Regions from separate parts of the Homo sapiens genome. Here region 1 is linked to region 2. Evidence: promoter capture Hi-C in human tissues and cell types (Jung and others, 2019). All regions are on one chromosome and are shown on one strand. Each heading gives the region's core, a stretch centred on a gene start or on the middle of the fragment in contact. The rest is flanking DNA. Distances are from core to core; before and after follow the strand shown.

Region 1 (3,351 bases), core at 2-2,501, 88 kb before region 2:
CTGCTGGAACTCCTGAAGGGCTTCTGGCCCCTTAGAGGCCAGTGAGTCCAGAAATTCCTTCATCCTGTGTTGCGGGACAGACCGTGCCTTTACTCGGATGTACTCTTCAAAGGAGATGGTGTTCTCTAGGGAATTATTCATATTGCAGAGTCCTTAGGGTTCCTAGAAATAAACAGAAGTCAAAATTATGTTACTGTTTTTAGCAGGAAATGCCCAGAAGCAATTACCCTTGCACAAGAGTGGAATATATTCAGGGCAGCTGTATACATATAGAATCAAAAAATAAAGTTTTATTATACCACCTTATTTTTTCAATTAATGGATGTTTGAAAATTATTTCTATTAACATTTCTTAAATAAAACTATCACACTGAAAACAAAAAAACAAACACATGCTTCACAATACTGGATGAAACAGGCTGAAAACACACTTCCTACCCAGCACTAGGTCAATCCCATCTTCTCTGCAGAGCCAAGCACTGGACAGTAAATGTCACATGCAAAACTGCTCTGTGACCATCACAGAGAGGACACCAAGCAAGGAGGAAGCTAGGGGCAGGGATTCCTATGGATATGTTTTATTTCCAAGTATTTCCTACAGCAGAGATAGGTATGCCACCTAGTTGTGGCAAGACACAAGAGGCAGAGGATATGTTCTTCATCTCCCATCAGAAAAACCAAAAATCCTATTTTGCCATGTGGTGCTCACATTCTTTTGCAACACAGCTTACTACTGGTTAAAAGCATGGACTCTGGAGCCAGGCTGCCTGGGTTCAAATCCCAACTTTATGTCTCCTTTATTATGTAACTCTAGAAAAGTCAATTAACCTTAGTTTTCTTGTGAGTAAATGGGGACACAATAGTACTTACCTCACAGTTGACATAAGGATTAAATAAGGCATTTAGAAAATCATCTAGCACATAGATAGCACTACAGAAATGTAACTAATACTATTAAAATAATTCTGGAAAAAAGGTAAATAGTGCTTTAAATATCCAGGTCACTACTAAAATTCAGAAATAAATTCTACAAGTTTTCATCAGGTATTTAATTACCTTAAGAATTAACCTGCAGACGTACAGTTAACTCTCATCATCTGAGGGAAAAGTGTGCAATCTGTGGACTGCTGACCCCTGTCGCTGCTACCTTTGTACCATCCTCCCTTCAACAGCCCGACCTCCAGAACAAAAGTAGCAGCAGGATGAAAGAGTAACAGAAAACAAGCGAACGTTTTTGCCAAAAAGGATTATCAGACAATTCTGAATGTCTGGAAAGGTGATTTGTTCCCTTGAGCAATCAGGATAGATACACTAGACTGACCAGATGCTCTACCTTATGTTACAGATATAAAATATGTGGGTAAACGTCTCCTTTCTTCTACCTAGGCTCTAAGTTCTTGGTAGACAAGACTATGTCCTGGTTCTCTCCGAATAGCTCACCCATGGTAGTTGCTTCATATATACCTGCTGCATTTGAAATTCAATGTGGAAAACGAAGAATTATGGTTCCTTTTTTTTTTTTTTTTTTTTTTTTTTGAGATGGAGTCTCATTCTGTTGCCCAGGCTGGAGTGCAGTGGCTTGATCTTGGCTCACTGCAAGCTCCACCTCCTGGGTTCACACCATTCTCCTGCCTCAGCCTCCCGAGTAGCTGGGACTACAGGCGCCCACCACCACGCCCAGCTAATTTTTTTGTATTTTTAGTAGAGACGAGGTTTCCCCATCTTAGCCAGGATGGTCTCGATCTCCTGACCTCGTGATCCGCCTGCCTCAGCCTCCCAAAGTGCTGAGATTACAGGCGTGAGCCACCACACCTGTCCTTTTTTTTTTTTTTTTTTTTTGAGTTGGAGTCTCCCTCTGTCGCCCAGGCTGGAGTGCAGTGGCACGATCTCGGCTCACTGCAGCCTCCCAGGTTCAAGTGATTTTCCTGCCTCAGCCTCCCGAGTAGCTGGGACTACAGGTGCCCACCACCATGCCCAGCTAATTTATGTATTTTTAGTAGAGACTGGGTTTTGCCATGTTGGCCTGGCTGGTCTCAAACTCCTGACTTCAGGTGACCCTCCCGCCTCGGCCTCCCAAAGTGCTGGGATTATAGACGTGAGCCACCCAATTGGTTTCTGTAATATCCATAGCTCCACGGACTCAAGCAATCCTTCCACCTCAGCCCAGGCAACATGGAGAAACCCCATCTCTACAAAAAATATATAAAAATTAACTGGGTATGGTGGTATGCACCTGTAGTCCCAGCTACTACGGAGGCTAAGGTAGAAGGATTGCTTGAGCCCAGAGATCGAGGCTGCAGTGACCCGAGATCACTCGAATGCACTCCAGCCTAGGCGACAGAGCGTAACTCTGTCTAAAAAAAACAAACAAACAAACAAACAAAAAAATTAAGTTATCAGCTGGTCACAGTGGTGCACACATGTAGTCTCAGCTACTCAGGAGGCTGAGGTGGAGGATTGCTTGAGACCAGGTCTTTGGGCTGGGAAACCTAGAGAGACTTTCATCTGTTAAAAGAAATAAATAAATAAAATAAAATAAATAATTATAATAAAATATTATAATAATTACAATTATGTAATATAAATATAATTTTTACATAAATATAAAAATATTATAATTATAATAATTAAATATTATAACAATTATAATAAAATACTATAATAAAATAATAATAATTAAGTGGTCAACGATGTCCACATCACACATAAAGAGAGCATCAGGCCAAGCACACTTTGCCTAACTACAGATTCAGAGAAGGCTACTTGGCTTAGGTGATCCGAGAGCACTCATTTGCCACACTTGCACAGAATGTATCAAAGTTCCCCTTTGTTAATAGCACAGTAGCGATTTCCTTAAGAAGGCATCTTTCAGCCCAGTGCGGTGGCTCACGCCTGTAATCCCAGCACTTTGGGAGGCAAAGGCAGGCAGATCACCTGAGGTCAGGAGTTTGAGACCAGCCTGGCCAACAAGGCGAAACCCTGTCTCTACTAAAAATACAAAAATTAGCCAGGCATGGTGTCAGGCACCTGTAATACCAGCTACTCGGGAGGCCGAGGCAGGAGAATTGCTTGAGCCCAGGAGGCAGAGGTTGCGGTGAGCCGAGATCGTGCCACTGCGCTCCAGCCTGGGCGCCAGACTGAGACTCTATCTCAAAAAAAAAAAAAAAGGCATCTTTCATAATAGAGATCCGGTAACATTAGAAAGTTATGAAACTCTAATATCTAATCACATATACCCTTCTGCTCAAAAGGGGACAAAGGAGAGATTATATGAGCAGCCATTAACAGGTCCTCTACCATGCTGGTACATAATTTCAGTTTTTCATCTCCATTATAAAAGAGCAGCAGAGG
Region 2 (3,601 bases), core at 1,025-3,524:
AAGGCCACAAGCTGGGCCTCTGTGGCACTGAGATCCTGGCTCATTGGGTTAAAGACAAGCAGTGCCTCTTCCAGGGCCTTCTTCCCTGCCGTGGAGATGCGCGACCAGGAGTGCACAGCTTTTTCCTCCACATGCTGAACCACCACACTCATGGCATTAGGCACTGCAGATCTGCCTGGGTATCCGCAAACCAGCGCTTGGCACCTCCAAGACAAGAGGAAAAGAGTCAATAAGAATGGCACTAAGACAAGGGGCCAGAACACATAGACAAGTCAATCAGTGCCCCAATCTCCATGACACTGAGGAATCTGGCCAGAGTGAGACACTTCCTGGTGTAAAACCCTGGTCTCCTGACCCTCTACCATGCTGGGGTGGGAGGAGAGGCTAAGGATCAGGGAGTTTCTTCAAGATACATGCTCAGAAATACCTCAGAGCCATCCAACCTGCTGCCGGGTCCCTGAAAAGATTTGAGCCTGGTACATTTTAATTCAACTCTGTATTTTCTGAAGCCAGAAACCTAGAATTACTCAGCTCTGGGAATACAGGCAATATCCCTGTCCTCAAGGAACCTAGGTTAGAAGGCCAGAAAAAGACACTGTTAAGATTCTTGGGAGTGAATGCTGGCATTCAGCTCAGTTTGCCAATGGGTCAGGAAAGGATTCCTGGGAGAGACAACACCTAGCTAGGATATGAGTGATGAATGAAAAATGATTAGATGGAAATGGAACAAAAAGGGGAATAGCTAATGCAATGGCTCCAAAGTGAGAAAGGGTTAAGGCATACTTGGTGTGGGATCTGGGATCTAGGTGAAAAAACAGGCGAGGATAGAGCAACAAAGAACCCTGAATGTTAGCCAAAGGGCCCAGACTTACACCCACTGTCCATGCCCATCTGTTTCTCCAGCTGCTGCTGTTCATGTGTGGAGCTGGAGTGGGGTGGGGGAATCTCCCTGCCCACCAGAAGTTCTGTTTTCAGTCTCTAGACAGGGTACTCAGCAACCCATTTTCTAGCTCCAGAGGCATGGAGACCTAATCAAGAGTCGGACTTTTCTTCAACAGAAACTAAAAAGCTGATGAGTAGCAGGTGCCAATGACATCTCTCTAGGCAACCAGGCAGACCAGGGACCAGGAAGCCAGACCAAGATCCCAAAGTTTAAGGACAATGGGAGCCAAAGGCTGCAAGTAGGATGGTGAGTCAAGGGGACATTAGCGGTATGCACTGTCCTACCTAAGACTTGGAGGGCCACAGACCTCAGTACAGCCCAGATGGAGGTGACTGAGAACACCTAACTACTCCCAGACTTCTTTAAAGAAGCTGTGGACATCAATCATAACTAACATCTAATACCCAACCCAACACTGAGGGTTCCCAGAAGCAAGAGGCAGCTCCCCAGCTGCACCAGAGCATTAAAAGATCAGCCAGGATCAGGCAGGTCCCTCGGGCCATGAGGCCCGTCTGTGTAGTTTCTTCCCACCGCTCTAATGCAGCAGATGAAGTCTTCAGAATACCCTGGAGGAAATGCCCTAGGGCTCTTTGTTTGGAAACATTCTTGGATCCTCAGGTGTCTTGGGCACTTCCCCTCCCCAGAGACCGTTCTCCAAGCACAATCCTTGCACATGACTTTAGTTCTTTATTAATGTTTTTTGAAGGGATGTAGTTCCCAGAGCTGTGAACTGTAGAAGAGAGAGGGACCTATTTCCCACCCTCACACGCGCCCCAGCGCAAATATTTGGGGTGACCTGGGGGCTCTTCCACCCAGGTTAGGCTGGGCTCTTGGGAGGGGTTTTCTGGGCTTTCGAGAAGCTTCGGAAACAGAGGCTCCTGCCCGGCCTCCGACTTCCCTTCACACGTGCCCCCGGGGAAGGCAGGAGAAGTTGACGGAAGATAGGGCGTGAGAGAGGCGCCACACAGGCAGACCGGGGGAGGGGGCAGATCGGGGCCCTCAGGCTGGGAATGCACGTCCTTAGGGCCCAAGCCGTGAGGCGGGGGTCACTGAGGCAGCGAAATGTACAGGGTGAACGGTGCTAGCCCTACCGGGACCGCACAGCCCCAGGGTGGGGTCGCTGGGCGCGGGGTGGGGGTGGGGTGGGGGGTCTCGGCCAGGCCGGCGGAGGACGCGGGTCCGGGAAGAGTTGGCCGCTTGCCCGTCCGCCCTGCCGCCTCGCGGGCCGCCCCTCCGCGGCGCGGCTAGGCCCGCGGCTCCAACCTACCGGCGCCGCCGCGGGGACCCAAGACGCGCCTCTGCGCCGCCTCCGCTGCTCCAACATGGCCGCCCGCTGCGCGCCGGAAGTGCACTGCGCTTCCGCTTCCGGGACCCAGCCCGCCCTACCGACCCTTGACCCCTGAGACCCCATTTCCCCACAAAGTCTGGGGGCGGAGCAGATTGGGTACCAAGGAGGACTGCCTGGAGGTGGTGGCCGCGGTGACTGCTCCAAACCCGTTCGGCCCTGTGCAGAAGTCTGAAGAACAGAGGTGCCCTCTGACGCGGCCCCAGGCAAGGACTCACTAGAGCCCGGCCAAGACTGGATTAGGGGTCATCTGACACCTTTTCTGAGGGGAGCTAGTGGTGCATTGACATCTGGGAGGGGCTCCTGACAAGGTTCAGGCCATCTTCCACCCTCTGATCTATCTTTAGCCACTGACAATGCCCACTTCAGTCCCAGACACCTGACCAGAGGGTGAAAGAGGAGTGCCTCCTGACAGGGAGTCTCAGGTGATCTCCTTTGTTTTGCAGTAAGGGTATCTTCTCCGAGGACAGCAGGCCTTCCTCTCTTCCTGAGAATAGGGCCTGTGGCACATGGCATGAAAGGCTGGTGTGCACGTGATCACAAGTGGTGCACGCAAGCCCAAGCGCACATGGAGTCTGGGGGCTCCAGTATACCACTGTGGGCCTGAGTATACTTGCTCAGGCAGGTGGGGGCAGGTATAGTCACTGGCCCAGCCTCAGCCCCTCAATGGAAGGAAGTCCTGCTTCCAGTCTTAACACTGCCCAGAACCCCTTTCCTTTTGCCTAGGAGTCTGGGACCTCAGTCTTTTTATCCATGCTCTTGGGCTAGTACGGGGTGGTGGTTATAGGACACAGGTCAAAATCAACCCTAGGGGTCTGTGACTTCAGTGAGAGGTCAGAGTGGTCTCCACAGCTCTGACCAAAGGTCCCATTAGTCAGAGGTTTGCAAGTCCAGGTTGGGAACCATCCTGGGAGCCCTGGTTTCATGGATGAGGTAGTGGGGGCATTTGCACTAGGGTCAGAGCCTGAGCCAGGAGGCAGAAATATTGCCACAACTCTTGGACTCTGACCCTTGCAGTGGTGCCTTATTTGGTAGTTGGGGTCAGGTGGAAGCCTATTGGCAATCACAGGAGGGTGGCGGGATGCTTCATTTAGGGACTGGGTACTAGCCCTTTTTCCTGCCCTTTTTCCAACCAGGATCCTCTGGTTGCTCTGTATTTTCCCTGCTTATACAGAGGGGTCCAGGCACTCCTAAAGACAAGTGCCTAGTCCACCCAGCAGTGCCATAGGCCTCATCTGGTGCCTCTTAGCTTCCCAGGGCCTCAGCACTAATGGTGAGGTCCTCGCTGCTTTTAAGTATAGCCAAGGTATCTA

Evidence for each region. The method cuts DNA at HindIII sites, captures the fragments that hold promoters and counts their contacts. A contact is called where the count stands out against the background at its distance.
Region 1: a contact is called between a fragment that was not itself captured here and the fragment with the promoter of CCDC71 in region 2, in 2 of the 25 tissues and cell types used here (aorta and lymphoblastoid cells).

What each region holds. Positions count from the first base shown.
Region 1 is chr3:49,076,877-49,080,227 of GRCh38, forward strand. It overlaps QRICH1 (glutamine rich 1), which reads right to left. Exons shown (of 10, transcript NM_198880.3): 2 at 1-162. The coding sequence starts at 141. Among named protein-coding and RNA genes, the nearest start is that of QRICH1, 16 kb to the right of the region's middle. The HindIII fragment of the contact is 7,025 bases long and covers 1-3,351 here.
Region 2 is chr3:49,164,057-49,167,657 of GRCh38, forward strand. CCDC71 (coiled-coil domain containing 71) reads right to left here and starts at 2,275. Exons shown (of 2, transcript NM_022903.4): 1 at 2,211-2,275; 2 at 1-204. The coding sequence starts at 152. RefSeq lists silencers at 2,037-2,096, 2,117-2,196 and enhancers at 2,347-2,416, 2,437-2,556. The HindIII fragment of the contact is 16,226 bases long and covers 1-3,601 here.